Regions from separate parts of the Homo sapiens genome. Here regions 1, 3, 4, 5, 6 and 7 are each linked to region 2. Evidence: promoter capture Hi-C in 16 types of primary human blood cells and fetal thymus (Javierre and others, 2016). All regions are on one chromosome and are shown on one strand. Each heading gives the region's core, a stretch centred on a gene start or on the middle of the fragment in contact. The rest is flanking DNA. Distances are from core to core; before and after follow the strand shown. Region 1 has its middle 4.8 kb from the start of MIR4426. Region 2 holds the start of UCHL5 (ubiquitin C-terminal hydrolase L5). Region 3 overlaps LOC105371664 (a long non-coding RNA gene). Region 4 overlaps RGS13 (regulator of G protein signaling 13). Region 5 has its middle 19 kb from the start of MIR4426. Region 6 overlaps LOC107985241 (a long non-coding RNA gene). Region 7 overlaps LOC105371664 (a long non-coding RNA gene).

Region 1 (2,700 bases), core at 165-2,664, 340 kb before region 2:
CCTGATGAATATGGTTACGAAAATCTTCAACAAAATACTAGCAAACCAAGCTCAACAACATATTTAAAAGATCATTCATCACGAGCAAGAGGGATTTATCCCAGGGATGCAAGGATGGTTCAACTTGTAAGAGCTCTCACAAAGTCAGTCTTTAAAGACTAAAACAAGTCTCTTCTTCTTCAAATGTACAGCCATCAATGTAAGGCAACAAAAAACATAAAAATCTAAGGAGATATAACACCATCAAAAGACTTCGGTGACCCTAAGTAAATGGAGATATGTAAACTATCTGACAAAAAATTTAAAATAATTGTTTTAGGGGCATTCAGAGAGGCTCAAAAAATACAGAGAAACAATTTCATGACATCAAAAAAAAAAAATGACCAAAATTAGAAATTTAGCAGAGAGATCAAAATTTTTTTAAAAAAAGCAATAATTCTGGAGCTAAAAATTATAAATAATGAACTAAAAAAATAGAAGGCATCAGTAGCGGAACTGATTAAGCTGGAAAAGAATCTGTAAACTAAAAGGCAATTTATTTGAAAATATGCAATCACAGAGAAAATATGAAAAGGAATGAAGAAAGCTTATAGGATTCATGGGACAGCATTAAAAGAGCAAATGTTTGAGTTATAAGAGTGCATGAAGAAGAGAAGGACAAAGGGGTAAAAAAATTATTTTATAAAAATAATTGCAGAAAATTTCCAAATTTGGAAAAAGTTATAAATATTCAGGTACATGAAGGTCAAAGTTCTCTAATCAGATTTAATCCAAACAAGATTACACCAAAATAATCAAACTGTTCAAAATCAGGACAATGAGAGGATACTGAAAGCACCAAGAGAAAGGAAGTAAAAACATATAAGGGGATAACAGTAAGGCTAGCAGTGGGTTTCTCAGCAGAGATGTTAAAGGCCAGGTGAGAGTGGGATGATATATTCAAAGTGCAAGGAAAAAACTGCCAACCAAGAATTTGGTGCCCAGCAAAACTGCCCTTCAGAAATGAAGAAATAAAGACTTTCTCAGGCTAAAAGAAGTTGAGGGAGTTTACCACCACCAAACCTGTCTTATAAGAAATGCTAAAAGGAATTCTTCAATCTGAAAGAAAAGAATGCCAATAAGTAACATGAAAACATATGAAAGTATAGAACTCACTAGAGAAAGTAAGTACACAATAAAATTCAGAATACTCTGATACTGTAATGAAAGTATATAAGTCACTTGTGTCTTTAGAATAAAGTATAAAAGACACAACTGTTAAAAATAATAATAGCTGCAATAATTTGTTAAGGGTAACAGTATAAAACTATGTAAATTGTAACATTGAAAAATTTAAATGTGGGGGTGGGGGTGGAGTAAAAGTATAGAGTTGTTTTTTTTTTAAACATAATCAGGTAAGTATTATCAGCTTCAAATAATCTCTTATAACAAGATGATTTTTAAGTCTCATGTTAACCACAAAGCAAAAAACCTATAGTAAATACACAAAATATAAAAAATAAGTAATAAGTGGCCGGGCGCGGTGGCTCATGCCTGTAATCCCAGCACTTTGGGAGGCTGAGGCAGGCAGATCACAAGGTCAGGAGATCGAGACCATCCTGGCTAACACGGTGAAACCTTGTCTCCACTAAAAATATACAAAAAATTAGCCAGGCGTGGTGGCAGGCGCCTGTATTCCCAGCTACTCAGGAGGCTGAGGCAGGAGAATGGCACAAACCCAGAAGGCAGAGCTTGCAGTGAGTTGAGATCACGCCGCTGCACTCCAGCCTGGGTGACGGAGCAAGACTCCATCTCAAAATAAAAAAAAAAAAAAAGTAATAATCAAGGGATCTGAGATAAAGAAAATTAAGTGTCCAGAAAATTAAACCATATTTTAATGTTACAATAGCCAGAAGAGAGAAAGTTCATATTTTTTAACAATAGTACCCTTTTCACAAAAGTGCACACAATATTTTTGTGAGTCAGATTTATGTTGTCTTGAGAATTTAAAGGAACATTTTGACCTAGAGTACATAATATCTTAAAACTACATCACAACTCAATTTTTAATACTTTTTATTAATCTTCTATAAAATGGTACATTTCTAAAATAATGACAATGTTTTAATTAATGGAAGGCTTTCAATATTAATATTTATTATGGTTTCCAATTAAATATTTTCAAATGCTTAATATTTTTATTTATTCTCTTTTTATAAAACTAACTTCTCGAGTTTCTATTATTCAATACTAGATTATATAATCAAGCTTGAAACTAATAATCATGTCAGCTTCCTGGAGTTTATTATAATTAATTTTTAAATACACTGTGCCAAATGTTAGAATTGTTTAACAGAGAAAGTAATGTAATAAAAATGCTGAACTAAATATCATCACTAATTCCAAATCAATAATGGAAAATAATTCCAAATGACCTATGAATAGTGTCACTTGTGATTAATATCTGGTTTTTCCCCTGATTTTTTTTATCATGCCCGTAAGGTAATAAGCCAGAAACCAGACAGCCTTCCCCAAAATATCACATGTTCCCCAAAACATGGGAAGAAGTTCTTTGTTACGGACTAAAAGTTGACCCATCTTTGGTATTTACCCTTATATTGCTTCATTTTTCATCTGTTATAGTAGATCAAGTCAAGTCCGATTATGAAGCCTTCATTTATCTAAAAGTTCCACTGATTATTTGCTGCTGTACATGTGACT
Region 2 (2,700 bases), core at 29-2,528:
CCGGGCATGGTGGCGCGTGCCTGTAATCCCAGCTACTCGGGAGGCTGAAGTAGGAGATTCGCTTGACCCCGAGAGATGGAGGTTGCAGTGGGCCAAGATCGCGCCACTGCACTCCAGCCTGGGCGACAGAGCGAGACTCTGTCTCAAACAAAAAAAAGAAAATTTCCCAATCCTTACCACTGTGCCTGAGATATAGAAGATGAACAACATATGCTTGATAAATGACATTCCAAATATTAAGCTGTGTACAACAGGCAATATCTACATCAACGTTTAATTGTTAATCCCGCGTAAAAGTTTTAACATCGTAGAGTCAATAACACTTGGGAAATAGATAAAAACGTACTGTCCAAAGAAGAGACTAAGAACAAGATAAATAGGGAAGGATAAAAAGTAAAATGTGTTGATTATTTAGGACGAAAGGCACTAAATACAGCCAGAGAGAAACTGTGAGGAAAGCATGTGGCCTCTAGTCTAGAACACTAGCTCAAGAAAACTCACTTCACCGGAAGCCAGAAATGAGCAGAGAGCGGAACCAGTGAAGTGGCCTTTCAGGCCCACGCAGTCAGCGTGTGTGGACGTCCCGAAGAGCTATTCACACATTCAAGGCGTTCTGCTTTGAATAACCAGAATCTCGAGTTCCTGGGCGGCTTGAGCCGCAGACACCTCACCCTTGAGAAGGCGCACCCTAGGGTGGCTTCTGCAGGACTAATGGCCTGAGCAATGCACTTGACCTCACCAGCCCGGGATAAGGTGCGCGCCGCAGAGAAGGGGCAGTGCAAAGGGCAATACGTGCTTAAGAGCTTGGGGAGCGAGGGCCCTCAAGTCAATTACAGGATTTGGGTGCCAGGTCCTGAGGATGCAGCAGGCACAAGACTGACACGATCCTTGCCCTCGTGGTGTGGCTCTACAAATTACTGTGGAAACGCGACTGTCTCGAGCTGAGGAGAGGGCAGAACATCTACATTTCCCCCACCCGGACTCCAGGTTCCTGAAGTCACCTCTCCAGACGCGGGGCGGCGGTGGCCGCAGGGAACCACTCCATGCCCAGCTTGGGCCTCCTCCCGTGACCCCAGGCCCAGGACGGTCCCCTTGGTTCTCACCGAATCCTTTAATGAGCTCGGTGAAGACCCCGGGGTCGCTTTCCATGAGGCACCACTCCCCGGCATTGCCCGTCATGGCCCTGGCCACACACCGCCCCGATCCACCTCTCGCTCTCAGCTGCCCCCCGCACCAGCTGCCGCCGGCCACAGATCTCAGCAAACCCGCCGCCGAGCTCGTCAACCACACGTCACCCCGCCTACTTCCCGACAGCCTCCGGGCGCCGTCACCTGCAGCGCGACTGAGCGCGGGAGGACGCTCTAGCCACCCTAGAGACATCGAAACTCTTCCCAGGCCTTGCAGCACCCGTAGCGGATTCGGAAGGGCTGGGGCCTGAGAAGAAAGGGCGGTGATTCACAGCGCCGAGGAGGCAACATCCGGGATCCTCGCCCCTCTGGGGCGGAGGCGGGGCAAAAGAAGAGGGGCAGGACTCGTTCCCGGGAACCGAACCTGGAATCCCCGGCGGCAGTGGGGCTGTTGCTGTTGCTGTGGCTGTCGCTGCCCGTCAGGCTGCCTTCTTTTGTCGTTTCCCAGCGCTGCGCAGGACTTCTCCTGGCGGCGCTGCGGATCCAGGGGGTCGGCTGCCAGGTACAGGTGAGGACATTGCGGGAGGCCGGCTGGGAGCCTTTTGTGCGGCCCCAGGGACGCGCAAATTCTGACCAGTCCTCCATGTCTCTCACCCGCATCCCAGGGGTTGAGGCTGGGCAAACGCCGCGAAACTATCGCTCTTCCCCGTCCCGCTTCCGCGCCTGTCCACCCTGGGTAACGGAACCAGCATCGCGGTAGGGACATCCTCGCTAGGCCCGGCCGGACCATTCCTCAGGGTGGGCCCTTTCCGAAGCCGGGACCGCTCCTGCTTGTCGGCATCGCTCCCCACAGGCCGACGTCGAGAGGGCCTGCTTTACTCCTCCTCTTTCTCCTCCTTCTCCCGCGGCTTCTGCGCGGAGAGGCGTCGCCCGGGATCTGGGTTTTGGAAGAAGGATCTTTGTGGGAAGACAGGGTGAATTTATCACAGAGGAATAACGAGGGAGAGGAGAAAGGTTTGTCCATGGGGCTGCTAGACTAGTGGAAGGGGATGCGGTGCGTCAAGGGAAAATTAGGTTGAAAACAAATGTCGTGTATTAATCTAAAAACATTTGGAATGGTTCTAAAACTGGATGATGAGTTAAACCAAATATTTACTAAATATTTACTAAATTGCCCTCATTCAGCAGGCTCTTATAGAATACTATAGTGTTAAGATTAAAGTTTTTAAGAGTATATTGAAGTCGTTAAGTGTATATTTACTCCTTAAAAGCTACATATTCCAAGAAAGACCTTTGGCTTCCAGAAAAAAAAAATGTTTTAGTGGGTAAAACTCTGACTCCTTCCTTCTCAAATAGGTGACTTGTGCCCTGGAGTTAGGGAGCCTTGTGCTACAGATTATGTGAAGCCATGAAATAAACGTGGTAAATTTTATTGAGGGAAGCAACAGAGCAGCTTTTGTATTAAAAGGAGCCTGAGTACGCTATGGGGTAGAAGCCAAAATTTGTATGAAGTGTTGGTTTAAAAAAAATTTTTTTTGTAACTTTCTTGAAGTTTATCTCCGGAAACTCTGCC
Region 3 (2,700 bases), core at 201-2,700, 490 kb before region 2:
TGCCCTCATTTAGTGCAAGCATTACTAATTGCCACACTTTGTCTGTATTGCTCACTCTTTCACATGGGGCAACAGAGATGCCTCAACCTTGCCTAAGCAAAATGTGAGAAAAGAAACCCCAGGCTAGAAAAATGGAACAAACTCCCACACAAAATAGGCCTCTTAATATTTCTATACACTGTTTTTGGTATGTTAAGATCTTCCTGTTGCAACTAAGAGCCTGGTCTTAAGAGAACCAATATGGGGATAAGCCACAAAGTCACAAATAAAACATCAACTTCAGATGAAATAGAACTTAAAACGTTGCAGTGACTACAAAGAGAAGACAAAAGTTACCTGATCTTCACGAAGAAAATAACAGTTTATAGCAGTTCATAAATTTATATTTTCTGATCTTCCATAGCATCTGAAACAAAACATAAAACAAGATTATGAGTTTGTTCTGTCTTTGAGTTCCTACCAAATATATTGCCCTGGTTTTCTGTTTTCATAACACAATAAAAAAAATAGGCAAGACAAAACACACAGGAGGAAAAAACATGGGTAAGAAGAGATTGTTTACACTTCAGGATTCTGCTGCCTTTAGAAGTGCAAAATATAAGCTTCACAAGTTGCTGACAGTCATGTTTCCCCAATTTGTAGCTGACTCTGGTCTATAGCAAATTCACAATTTACAAGCATTCTAAGTCCCCTACCCCCTAGTTCAGTCTTAGCTGATCTTTGAGGGGTTAGTTGTTCAACATTTCCTTTTATTACTTAAGGTACCCAAGGGTATTCCAGTTATCTTCCTATTTACCTAAGCTAATTAACAGTCAATGTGGGGCTGCTGACACTTGCAGCTATGGAAATCCTATCTAAAACAACAGACAACTCAATATTCCTCCACAACAGGAGGGAGCTGGATAAGATCTGCAGTTGGGAGGGATCAATATCCAGCTATAAGTACCTAAGAAAAAGCAGGAAAATTAAATTGAAGTTGGAAGGAATAGTCTGTGACATTAACATCTGAACATACATTTATACATTTGATTAACATATTAATTTACAGAAATCAACTAACTAAATAAAAAAGGAAATCCAAGACAAGTAAATATTGATAGGGAAAGAAGCAATCTGGAAGACTGGCCCAGTGAATGCAGAGTTGCAGTGGTAAGAGTAGCCCTGCATTTGGAACAGGTGGATTGCCAAATTTACTAAATTTTAGGAAGAAGTCTAGGCAAAGAACTCTAACATCATAAGAAAAATGGAAAACATCCTAGCTATGGCAAATTCTGTCTAAATCTTAATTTCTCTGGGGCTAGTTTTGATTGGTATAGAATTTCAAAAGGAGATCTTCCCATGCCACTACCATAGCTGCAAGTTGCTGATGATCGCCTTTGACTTCTACACAAAGAAAACTGAAAAGAAGTTAGCTGATTTGATCAAACTCACACAGCAGGAAAAGGTATAGCTGTGAGAATTGGCTCACAGTCTTTTGAAATGTGAGATTTCAAAGCAGCAAGATGAACATGTCACTGGGATTCAACAGAATCAAAGCCTTTCATTTATTTTTTAAAATAGAATACAAATAAGATGGCAGACAAGGCTTAATAAAAAAAAAAAAAACAGAACAGACACAGAAAACAGTGGAACACCACAGACCACTTGTACTCACAATAATAGTAGTATACTGCTAAGCATGGACACTATCTGTTGACTTAGAGCTACTTTCTCAAGTAGGAAGATTATTACTACAAACAAATGTCCGGTAAGTCTGACACCAATATTTAGTAAAATAATAATAATAAAATATATAGGTATATATATTATATACACATATTATATAAATGTATACACTTTATATATATAGATATATGTAAATAGACATAAAAGCAAAGCATTAGAAAGGACATGAAGAAAGTGGAGTTAATGTGTTTGTCAGCAATAACTGGCATGGTTTTGGAAAGAACAGAACATGTCAGGAAATCTTGAGAGATTTTTCTAAGAAAATTATATAATTAATGAGGAAAAGCAAAGCAAATAAGTCTCTATTGTTAGCCACCTCGATGTTTAGTAAGAACAAAAGCAAATGAAATCACTGGAATAGTGTTATTAGAAACTTGGAAAGTTAACAGTCATTTATTGAAGTTGCTCTCTAATATTTAAAACATACCTCTGTATTAGGCCATTCTTGCATTGCTATAAAGAAATACCTGGTACTAAGTAATTTATTTTTTTAAAAAAGAAATTTAATTGGCTCATGGTTCTGCAGGCTATACAGGAAGCATAGCACTGGCATCTGCTTCTGGATAGGTCTCAGGAAGCTTCCAATCATGGCAGGAGGTGACAGGGGAGCAAGTGTCTCACATGGTGCCAGCAGGAGCAAGAGAGAGAGGGTTGTGGGGAGGGAGGTGCCACACTCTTTTAAACAACCAGATCTTGAGAGAACTCACTCACCATCATGAAGATCCTCCCCCATGAGCCAATCACCTCCTACCAGGTCCCACCTCCAACACTGGAGATTACAATACAACAAGAGATTTAGAGGGGACACATATCCAAACTATATCAATTCTGCCCCTTGCCCTCAAGCCTCAGTTTCTTCTCACACTGCAAAATACAAGTGTCCCTTCCCAACAGTCCCCCAAAGTCTTAAGACATTTCAGCATTAACTCAGAAATTCAAAGTCCAAAGTCTCATCCGAGACAAGGCAAGTCCCTT
Region 4 (2,700 bases), core at 155-2,654, 410 kb before region 2:
CACAAAATCCCTTGGAAAATATGCTTAAGTAGTAACGCATACCATAGCCTTCTAAAGTTAGTATTAAACAAAAACACTTAACTCGCTGTTCTTGCTGCCTTCAAAAGTAAGAATAAATTTGAGTCTTGCTGTTCTAAAACTCCTCCCCAAAGTTTGTTTCAACTTTTTCAGTGTCTGATTTAAGTGGGACTATACATGGGTCTGAATATAGTTGTAGGTAAGTATCGACATTAACATGGTACAAATAAGAGATACCAGCAATGGATGTGACAGAGACAAAGTCATGGGCTCAGTGCAGGAAAAATAAAGGAGGACGTGCATTCAAAAGAATAGTCAATTGCGTTTGGGGTCAGAAAAGCTGGTCCGTTGTAGAAAATGATAAAACCAGAAGACAGGTACAGAAAAAAAATGTAGGGTGTAGACACAGAAAATTCTCTTGTTGAATTTGGTAGTTTTTTTTAAATGGAGTTGGTTCCCCTCAATGCTTGTTAATTTTTGCCTATAGAACCATCTTTTTATTTAAGATCCCATTTTAGCCTCTCTGTGAATGTTTTATCTGTTTAGAGCTATGGACTATGAAGGAGAGTTGGCTGTGCTACTTACATGCTTTAACTAGTGGGGTGTACCAGTGGCTATTCTGGGCAAGGTACCCCCTGTTCCTCATGGGGGTTGTCATAGTCCTGAGGCACTACCTGCTCTTTCTGACTCAAGACCCTCTTTAGTATGGACTCAGTTGTCACTGCCCAGCCCAGAGGGTAATGGCAGTAGGTGTAGACACTTGGCTACTCCTGCTGAAACACGTTAATCAACCATTCTGGCGCTTACTTCTGCTTCATCCCTAGGGCTGGATCTACCTCTACAGGCTTGGGTCACCACCTGAGCTCTCATATTTTGTAGCATGCCTTTCCAATGGGCATTTGGGGCCATAGTTTCTTTCTTTGATGCAATCGCCACTGGCTTTCACTTTTCAGGTATTCCTCATAGTTTATAATCCAATTTGCCAGCATGAATGTGAATTTTAAACAAATATATCTTCTGGGTCAGTGTTAGAACATTGAAATGTGATGAAGAGACAAAAGTGCATATTCAGTTAACTATATTGTAAATTTTTGTCCCAATCCTCTGTAATACACATTTTGCCACCTTGCTAGATTGATCTCTTTCTTGGAGTTTCATACTCTTCATCTACAAAATGGGAATAGTATCACTTATCCTTTCAGGTTTATTGTGCAGGTGAGATACAAAACATCTAGCTCAATGCCTAATATAGATTAAGCACACAATAATTGGTAGTTTCTTTTAATAGTAATAAAGTACATGTCTTTGAATATCATTCTTTTTTCTCTGCTGCCTACCAACAAGTCCAAAATCTTGGTATTTAGTACTCTCTACACCCTAACCCAAAACATTTTCTAAAATTTGTCTCTAGCTATGACCTGTCACATAACATGCCCTCCACCAATGTGGGTCACTTCATTTTCTACTTGTACATCTATGATTCTTCTCCTCCAGGCTTTTGTTCAAAGTCCTTTTCATCTCTAGTTACTCTGCTCATGTTTGAAAGTCAAATTCAAGTGCCACTTTCTCCAGAAAACTGCTTAGTAATTTCTCCTTTATCTTCTATTTTGTTAGTATTAACATTTATTCTGCTTTTAATTGTAGCCAGTTTGTGTATTGGGTTTTTTATATAGTGGCTTTCTCCCTAGATTATAAATTCCTTAAGAGCACAGCTTGCCTCTCATTTACCTTTCAAACCCCTGAGAGACTGAAAATGTGCTTTGTACCCAATGAGCATGCAATAAATGTTCCATGAATAAACACAAGAAAAATATTAGTGAGAAAAGTTCAAAACACCAAGCTATATTATGTAAGTTTCTGTGCCAGTCCTGGAAGCCTTATTAAAAAAATGAATAGGCTTAATTATTTGGCAAGGATTTCAAGTGGTCATCTGCCTTGCTAGAATCAGCAATTTAGAATTCTAGTGTCATGAGAATAAGCAAAGGCTCTAGCAAAGATGAGAATAGGAAAACATCATACTGCTCTTTATAAAAGCCAGCAAAAATAGGGTAAGAGCCTTTCCAGAAATCATATTACTATGAAGTTCACATAAAAATTCAACAATCACATAATAAGTAATAAAACGAATCATTCTATGGATGATCCAACCAGTAAGACAAAACTAAAAATACAAATATTAAATGTGCCAGAGAATAAAAATGTGTTTACATTAACCAAGGACATTAGTCAAATGCATGCTGTAGCTGAGATATGCAGATGCATATTTTACATAGATTAAAACATTATTTCTAAGGACAGTAGCTCAGACACACACATGAAAAAGAAATATATCAGCCTGGGTCTCAATAGATGAACCGAAATTGGTTTAGAGACGTTTTAGGGAGCCATTAAGTCATAGTCATCAAAATACAATTAAATTCAACATCTCAGTGGGAAAAGGGGATCCAAGAAAACCATCAGTTTGAGAACAGAAGTATGGCAAAATCCAAAAGTTAATTAGAAATTAAGAATGTTAGCAACTTAGATACCTTTTAGATAATGCTATTTAATGCTACATTATTTGCAAATAATTTTTTACATATGAAAGATTTTTTTTATATATTTAAATATCAAAGATTTTCTTGTTATTTATATGAAACATAATGTAACCAAATAGAACTAAAGTAGAGAGACTAGCTAGAA
Region 5 (2,700 bases), core at 54-2,553, 360 kb before region 2:
TCTTCTCTCCCACAGCCTGGCCACTCAGAATACACCAATGTGAAAGCAAGACTCAGAGCTGACTCTGCTACTTATGCAAATAGTCACTTTACCCCTAAATTGCCATACCACCAGTTCTTTAAGCTCCATGAAGGCTCATCTCTCTTAGCTTTTCAGGTGTCCCAACAGTGGTTGCTCTGGTTTGAATGTTTGCGCCCCACAAAATTCATATGTTGAAATCCTAACCCCTAAGGTGATGGCATTAGGAAGTGGGGCCTTTTGGGAGTCAGTAAGGCCTTAGGCAAAGCCCTCATAGGTGAGATTGGTGCTTATATAAAAGAGACCCCAGAAAGCTTCCTTGCTCCTCCCACCACGTGAGGACACAGGATGAAGGCACCATCCGTGAGAAACGGGGCCCTCACCAGATGCCAAATCTGTCAGCACCTTGATCTTGTACCACTCAGACTCCAGAACTGTGAGAAATAAGTTCTGTTCTTTATAAGCTACCCAATTTACAGTATTTTCGTCTAATATACTTTAATTGAATGGACTAAGATAGTGGCCTGTGTGGAAAATTCACCTGAAGCAGATTCTAATAGAGGAATTTAACTATCCTTCTGTTCAGGGTTTCACAACAATATCCTCTGATAAACAACAGAACACAGGAAAGATTCAGAATTCTAACCTATGATGCCTTTCCAAAGGATGTAATTTCTTGGGCTTACTAGATTGCTCTGTCTTGTTTAAGCACCAGTTCCCAAGCCCATACAAATTTCTAGCCTGATCAGCCCTCATTTCACAGATTAAAAGTAATATCTAACACCCATTATACTAATTAATAAGGCAACTGATATTAATTAAAATAAAGACATTGAAACCTTCTGAATGCCCAGGCCTCTGGTCTTTGGGCCTCTACTTAGAAATTTTCATGTACTAACTAATCATCCCTGGAGTGCATATTCCTGATTAAGGTACCTAACATGTTAACTAACGGACTTTAAAGTATAGATTAAGTTGACTACCACCTTCTATGCTGGGTGTTTTAATAGTAAACTGCAGGCCAGGCACGGTGGCTCACACCTGTAATGCCGGCACTCTGGGAAACTGAGGCGGGTAGTTTTCTTGAACTTAAGAGTTCAAGACCAGCCTGGGCAACATAGCAAAAACCCTGTCTCTACAAAAAATCCAAAAATTACCCAGGCACAGTGGCTCACGCCTGTAGTCCCAGCATTTTGGGAGGCTGAGGCAGGTGGATCACTTGAGGTCAGGAGTTCAAGACCAGCCTGGCCAACATGGTGAAACTACGTCTCTACTAAAAATACAAAAAAAAAAAAAAAATTGGCCAAGTGTGGTGGCACGTGCCTGTAATCCCAGCTGCTTGGGAGGCTGAGGCAGGAGAGTCACTTGAACCCAGGAGGCGGAGGTTGCAGTGTGCTGAGATCGAGCCAAGGCACTCCAGCATGGGCGACAGAGCAAGACTTCATCTCAAAAAAAAAAAAAAAAATAGCTGGGCATGGTGGCATGAGCCTGTATTCCCAGCTACTTGGGCTGAAGAGGGGAGAATCACTTGAGCCAGGGAAGTTAATTAAGGTTGTGGTTAGCCAAGATCGTACCACTGTACTCCAGCCTGGGCAAAAGAGTGAGATCTGTCTCAAAAAACTCCAAAAACTGCAGAATATAATATCTAACTTTACCTCCCCCTATTTCCCAACACACACATTCATCTAGAGCAGAGTTTCTCAATCTGGGCACTACTGATCTTTTGGACTGGATAATCCTCTGTTGTGAAGGGATGACCTGTGCATTATAAGGTGTTAGCACACTGCTGGTGTCTATCCATGAGATGCCAGTAGCATCCCTCCCCAGTTGTGATAAGCAAAACGTCTACAGACATTGACAAGTATCACATGCTCTTAAAATCACCCCTTGTTGAACATTATTGCCCTACAGTGTGGCTGACCCCCTAAAGCCAACCCCACTTACCAGGATATTTTTCTTTCTTAATTTTACTTATAGTGGTCCCCAGTCTTAGAAGATACCTTCTCCACTGCGCTACTCAAATGTGACCCATGCTTTAAGACAAGACAGCACCAAGAATTTCAAAAAGCAAATGAAGCTCTCAGAAGTGATTTATTTGGACCACGTAAATGTGGGCTACAGATTTCTGTAGACCTCACAGCTCTAGGGTATTACACTTTCTCATTCTTCCTACTTATCTCATTTATGTTATCTGCCTGGCCCTATGAGAATTTACATTAATACTTAATAATAAGTTTTAATTCATAATAAGCCTAATAAGCTTCATAATAAGCCTAATAAGCTTCATAATAAGCCTAAATCATCCTTCCAAGAAATTGTCCACTGTGATGTCCATATTGACCTCTTCCTTTTCAGGAGAAGTTTTATGCTATGAAGAAAACTAAAAAAATTCAACACAACTCGAGTACTAAAATTTCTCACAACTTAATGGCTCCTGTTAAGAGAAGCAAAGTATTAAAACAGTGTACTAAAGTCAGCTGTTCTTTAAAATAGTCACAGAAATTATGTTATCAGACTGGCAAAAAAAAAAAAAAAAAAAATGCTCACCTGGGTCAATATGAGCCATCCTGCAATTTTTGAAAGACCAAAGACCACATAAAACAGAGCTTTTTTTTTTTTTGCTGTGTCACCCAGGCTGCAGTGCAGTGATGCAATCTGGGCTGCAACTTCGCCTCCTGGGCT
Region 6 (2,700 bases), core at 144-2,643, 430 kb before region 2:
ACCCTGGGCAAGGTCTTCTTGACAGAGTAATCAGTTTATTTTTTCCAGAGTGACAGATAAAACGTTTAATTTCCCATTATCTAGGCCCTATAAAACATCTGTAGGCTAAGAGCAGCTATGCCAATTAGCAGAAGTGACAGCCTGAGTCAATGAACTGCAGCCTAAAAATAAAGCCACATGGTCCCTTTGGTCCCTTTGGAACACTGCTTGACTTGGAACAGATCTAAGTGGAATATTCCTTAGTTACCACTGTTTCACAATAGTTTTTTGACCCCTTTTTCTTAGGCATGTTTGATTTTCCGGTGTATTTCTAAACATGCACATAAGCAATTTAAATGTTTCCCCGGGCCTTGGCAGAAAGTGAAAATAAAATAATAAGAAATATATTATTAAGTACATTATTATTTATGTTATCAGATAAAACAAGTGTTTTTGAGCTGCTGGAGTTCTTTGTTTAGAAAAGCTTGGGTGTTTTTTTAATTATCATCAAATTCAATATGCATAAAATTCATAAAGCAAATTCATAAAATGTATAAAGCCAATGTATTTTGCTTTATGTCATGTACTTGAATACTGGGCATAAACTGAATTTCAGACATTTAAACTAGAAGAATTAACTAATGGAATTCCTATAGAATTCTTTTGTAAAATAAATCATTTTCAATGATAATAATCATTCTTTAATCTATATTTTCTTTCAGATATTTCATTATAAGAAGGCAGCATATATCGTGTGTCTTTAAAGAATGATGCTCAAATTGCATCATTTGAGGCAGAAAAATTAGATTCAGAAGCATAATATTCCATTTACTCAACTCAAATAGAAACCATGTTAATACCACTTAAGAGAAAAGACCAGAGTCTCAACATGGAATAAATTACAGTGAATAAAATAAAGCAAGAGTAGGGGAGAATTCGTGTAACCACAGCATCTTGTCACATGTTTTTCTAGTAGAGAAAGAAGAAGAGGAGATAGATACAAAGACACAAGGGCCTAAAAACTTTAGGCTGTTACCTAAACTGAGATAAGAATGTAAGATATACACAATTATCTGATTTTCAACCAGAAGTAAGCCAGAAAGGGAATGAGGACCTTAAAGTACACAGAACGCAGGAGTTAGGCAGCCTGAGTTTTTGACTCAGCTATATCTCAGCTACTGTGTGGCTCAGGGCAACGCACAAGAGATCAATTTCTTTCTTCATTACATGAAAGCTTTGAACTAGATTATCTAAATTTCCTTTAACCTCTAAATGTCCGTGATGGAACTTCTGCTTTAAAATGGGGTTGGAGAAGCAGTCTCTGAAACAAGCTCTTCCACTTCCTACACAGACAACCAACATTTAAATATAAAAATACCTTCCTTATTAGAAAAGTTGCCTTCACAAAGCTCTTTGGCAAAGGTTATAAGGAAAGCAAACAATCGATACAAATTTCACATTTCTATTTACTTTCTGCCTACTCACTTGGAAAAGCAATAAGATGAAATAAATTCCCACTGATCTGGGGGAAAATATAACTAGAATGCCATTTTTCCTAAGTTCCTTTGTTTGGAAGTTTTTAAAAGAGTTAAAACAAGCTTCACGGTTTATTAGATATTATTTTCTGTAGTGTTTGAAAATGTTATGGGGTAAAAAAAGGGCATGTGTTTTTAATGCCCTGAACATTTTCTTTTTCAAACAAAAGTCATCCTTCTTGTGTCTCGGTCCCCGTTGTTCTTCTTCCCATTCTGCCCCTTTGCTCAGCTTCATCTATAAAAATCATTTGTGTAATCTCTATTGGCCCCACGCTGTACATTCAGGATGCCTTATGTAGTTCCAGGCCTCCAGGATTATATTTCTTATAACACCAATCACTCTTCATTTTCCTTTGGATGTTATTTTCTTTGGGCAAAATTACTTTTCCTTTGTGTAAAAATGTTTTAAGAAAATATTTTCCATATCTGCAAAAAGCATGTAGTTGATGCACTAGTTTTACAGTTCTTAAAGCAACTCCTCAAATATTCAGACTTGAGGGGGAATTAAACAACACTTTTTGTATGGAGGAAAGCATACCAAAGTAGGTTTCTGAAGCTTCTGGGATTGCAATTTTTAAAATTCTTTGCCTTTTCTACAAAACTAAACTTGTTTTATCTAATCTTATTTGCATTATCATATCTTTCAGAGGTTTTAAGATATAGTGTCATAATCCTAAAGAAAAACATTTGCCTTGTATTTTATTCTAGTTCCTTGTTTGACTAAGTCACAAGGACACCATTGTTTAAATTTGCATGCCTCATAAAAATATATATTTGTGTAAATTATACTTACAAAGCATCTCCAGATATATCTCATTAACCACTACACAAATTATAGGTTACAAAAAGGTTACAGTCAGAGAGGCAGAACTACTTCTTAGGAAAGTATGAGATATGGGAAGCTTGTACAATATAATCCTTCCCAAACTTCACCCTATAATTTTTATCTAAGTGAAAATTGGTTAAAATGAACATTAGGGTAGTTTTTAGCTTGGATAAATCCTGTTGGGAAAAAAAAACTATATCCATCTATTCTTTGAATATTTATTGAGCATCTACTACATCAGTCTGAATGCTATGTCCACATATGCATTTGAAGCATGAATGAGAAAAGTGGGAGACTCCTTTGGTAAAGCAGGGAGAAGGAATGCAGGCTAATTCTGAGCTCTGCGCTCTTTTAGTCTCT
Region 7 (2,700 bases), core at 124-2,623, 470 kb before region 2:
AGAGGGAAAGCTAAAAAGGTAGTTTAGAGAAGATTCAGAGAGAAAATATAGTCTACTCCGAAAAGAGTGAATTTTTATCTTTTACAGGATAGGTAACCACTGACGTTTTAAGCAAAAGAATAAAGTCTTAATTGTTTCTGAATGTCTACTATGGGGCAGGCACTGTGCTGGATACATGTGTTATCTGTTTAATCCACTTTAAACTTCTTTGAGGTGAGTATTGTTAGGCTCATTTTATTGATCCACAAATGCAGAAACAAGTGGAAAAAAGTATCTAACAACATATAACTAGTGAATGGCAGATCTAAGATTTGAACCTAGGTTTGTATCTTTCCAAAGACTCCCCATTATGTCATGATTCTTCATGGAAGGGAGATGATTTATTTGTGTTTTAAAAAGGGTAATTCTAGATTAACTATGAAAGACACTTGCAAAAGAAGACATAATTGAGGAAGGAAACCCAAATATGAGGCTGGTTTTGTAGCCCAGCAAATGAGAATCTGAGCCTGAAATAGGGCAGTAATCAAGGCAATGGGAAGGACAGGGCGAATAGGCAATACTTGGTGAGCAATTTGCTTCGACGAATAATTAATAGAGAGAATTTAGGATACATTTGAGGTGATTCGGCTGGGCTCCCAAAATTACAGCAATGTCCTCTGCTCTAACATACTGTCGATGAGGTCCTTCCATTACAAATGCTCATTAAACAATGTGGAAATAGAATGTGGTAGCACTGGAGGAAGATTAAGGCACACACTTTCAAGAGTTTCCACATGCAAAATAAATTATGCAGTATTTTCAGTAGACAATGGTTTATTCCAATTACCATGTATATGAAACATTCCACATGTTTTCTCTCAAAGCTCACTTTTAACTTGGACAAAAGCAGAGGCTTGCAAGACACAATCCAGGCTGAGAACAAAAAACAAGGATCAAGAAACTCAAAAGAATTGCAGCAAGTAATAGCTGTAAGGTCAAAGCACCTTTTACAGACAGGAAACAAAACCAAAATCTAGGATTCAGGCCAAGAGATGGGCAAAAAAAAAAAAAAAAAAAAAAAAACTGTCAAACACAAACAAAACCATCATGGTGACCCACAGCAGTAGACAGCGTGGAGGCCTGTGTTGAAATCAACAGTGGGGCAGGAATTCTCCCTCCTCCTGTGGAAAGTGGGTCTATTTGACTGATGGGATGATGGTAGTGCCCACTTCTTGTCAATAGAGAGAAAAATAGGACTGAAGACTTAAGGTAGCCAGTCACTCTTTCGGCACATTTTTCAGTTCAATCATCTTTGCCTTAACTCCTCAAAATGAGTGAAGATTTTTTTATCCTTTATTTTTACATAGAGAAAAGGAATCAGAATGATGTAAATTTCAGATATTATCCCATCCCCCTAAACTATGTACTGCTATTCTAGTCAAACCTAGAAAGTGAAAAATTCAGTAGGCTTGGTTTAAGTCAGTAAGATCAACACATTCTGCTCTGGTTTCATCTTTTATCCCCTGCCTTGTAACCCTCAGCATGAATTAGTGATAAAAACAGATTGTACTCGAAGTCTAGTGCTTTTTTCTTAAATCTGTCAGTTAATGAGACAAATGACCCACTATGAAGAAGTAATACGTAGAACATGTTCCCATAGGAAGAGCTAAATAAGATACTTCCTATAATGTTTCTTTGGCATAATTTTGACTAGATTGATTACAATTTATACTTTCTATGGGGGTAGTAAGAAGTGCTAAAGTAGTCTGGAAAAGAGTCTAATTATTAATTGATAAATTAACATATTTATCAGTAATGACACCTGCTATGTGCCATAAGCCTCACTAGGTGCTAGACCCACTGAAATGATAAATAATAAAGCAAAAATAAGTTCACTACGCTCTTGGGAAGAAGGAGGCAAATGGATTATAGTAAAATAGACTATAAGCATTATAAAAGAGGTATAAAGGAGAGACAAATAAGATTGTCTGATAGATGATCTGCCTAGGGGTTCTCTTCAGATCCCTAGGAAAAAGTCAAATGGGACTGGTGGCTCTTCCTCCCTATAGTGGGAGACACTTTGCATATCAGCACTGTATGCAACCTCCCTGGGCATCAAGTCACATCAAGTTTTTCTCCTCTTGCAAGCCCTCTCTCTGCTGTCACCAAATCAGCTGGGTGCTGTCTATTTGCTTCCAAAGATCCTATTTAAAAAAACAAGGGGAGGTACTGGGGAGCAGTGAGGGCAAGCTACACCTGCCTCCTCATGGGATGCTGTAAAGCTGAAGAACCATGAACATCCTGCCCCTTCTCCTTCTGCTCCTGTGGAATTCTTGGGGTTTATCTCAGCCTTCCCTTGACAAACAGGAAAAATGTGTTATGAGAGCTCAGAGGAGAGAGTAGTTTGTTCTGTCCTGAAGGAAGTTTATGGCTTCAGAGAAGTAAGAGGTACACAACACAGTGGATTGAATTCAAAGTATGCCAAATTATTTTGTGAACTTCTTGAACATTGGATGAATTGCATTCTCTGTAACTCACAAATAAATATAAACTCTGGTATTATTGGGGCCCAGAAGAGCTGGAATAAGTCAGTCCTACTAATTACTAATATTACTTTGCTCACATCCATATATTTCTACTTTAGCTATAGTTATTGTCCCAAAATTATTCTTTTTGTTTGTTTTAGGAGATGTGGTAGAGACTGTCTATCTGTTCACCAGT

What was found. The method cuts DNA at HindIII sites, captures the fragments that hold promoters and counts their contacts. A CHiCAGO score of 5 or more calls a contact.
Region 1: a contact is called between a fragment that was not itself captured here and the fragment with the promoter of UCHL5 in region 2, in 1 of 17 cell types (neutrophils). The highest score is 7.9, in neutrophils.
Region 3: a contact is called between a fragment that was not itself captured here and the fragment with the promoter of UCHL5 in region 2, in 3 of 17 cell types (neutrophils, activated CD4 T cells and M2 macrophages). The highest score is 11.1, in neutrophils.
Region 4: a fragment that was not itself captured here is called in contact with the fragment with the promoter of UCHL5 in region 2 in 1 of 17 cell types (neutrophils); the score reaches 7.7 in neutrophils.
Region 5: a fragment that was not itself captured here is called in contact with the fragment with the promoter of UCHL5 in region 2 in 2 of 17 cell types (neutrophils and monocytes); the score reaches 9.0 in neutrophils.
Region 6: a fragment that was not itself captured here is called in contact with the fragment with the promoter of UCHL5 in region 2 in 2 of 17 cell types (naive B cells and total B cells); the score reaches 6.2 in naive B cells.
Region 7: a contact is called between a fragment that was not itself captured here and the fragment with the promoter of UCHL5 in region 2, in 2 of 17 cell types (neutrophils and M1 macrophages). The highest score is 6.1, in neutrophils.

What each region holds. Positions count from the first base shown.
Region 1 is chr1:192,719,777-192,722,476 of GRCh38, forward strand. No RefSeq gene overlaps it. Among named protein-coding and RNA genes, the nearest start is that of MIR4426, 4.8 kb to the left of the region's middle. The HindIII fragment of the contact is 1,661 bases long and covers 585-2,245 here.
Region 2 is chr1:193,058,082-193,060,781 of GRCh38, forward strand. UCHL5 (ubiquitin C-terminal hydrolase L5) reads right to left here and starts at 1,279. Exons shown (of 11, transcript NM_001199261.3): 1 at 1,104-1,279. The coding sequence starts at 1,179. It overlaps RO60 (Ro60, Y RNA binding protein), which reads left to right and starts at 1,531. Exons shown (of 9, transcript NM_001173524.2): 1 at 1,531-1,695. RefSeq lists enhancers at 631-940, 965-1,697, 1,101-1,630, 1,698-2,430. The HindIII fragment of the contact is 5,498 bases long and covers 1-2,700 here.
Region 3 is chr1:192,566,811-192,569,510 of GRCh38, forward strand. It overlaps LOC105371664 (a long non-coding RNA gene), which reads right to left. Exons shown (of 5, transcript XR_002958418.2): 4 at 337-406. Among named protein-coding and RNA genes, the nearest start is that of RGS1, 7.6 kb to the right of the region's middle. The HindIII fragment of the contact is 1,701 bases long and covers 601-2,301 here.
Region 4 is chr1:192,648,221-192,650,920 of GRCh38, forward strand. The region is part of intron 5 of RGS13 (regulator of G protein signaling 13); the gene reads left to right. Among named protein-coding and RNA genes, the nearest start is that of RGS13, 13 kb to the left of the region's middle. The HindIII fragment of the contact is 9,764 bases long and covers 1-2,700 here.
Region 5 is chr1:192,696,236-192,698,935 of GRCh38, forward strand. No RefSeq gene overlaps it. Among named protein-coding and RNA genes, the nearest start is that of MIR4426, 19 kb to the right of the region's middle. The HindIII fragment of the contact is 1,946 bases long and covers 331-2,276 here.
Region 6 is chr1:192,629,665-192,632,364 of GRCh38, forward strand. All of the region lies in intron 1 of LOC107985241 (a long non-coding RNA gene), which reads left to right. Among named protein-coding and RNA genes, the nearest start is that of RGS13, 5.1 kb to the right of the region's middle. The HindIII fragment of the contact is 364 bases long and covers 1,212-1,575 here.
Region 7 is chr1:192,584,105-192,586,804 of GRCh38, forward strand. The region is part of intron 3 of LOC105371664 (a long non-coding RNA gene); the gene reads right to left. Among named protein-coding and RNA genes, the nearest start is that of RGS1, 9.7 kb to the left of the region's middle. The HindIII fragment of the contact is 4,084 bases long and covers 1-2,700 here.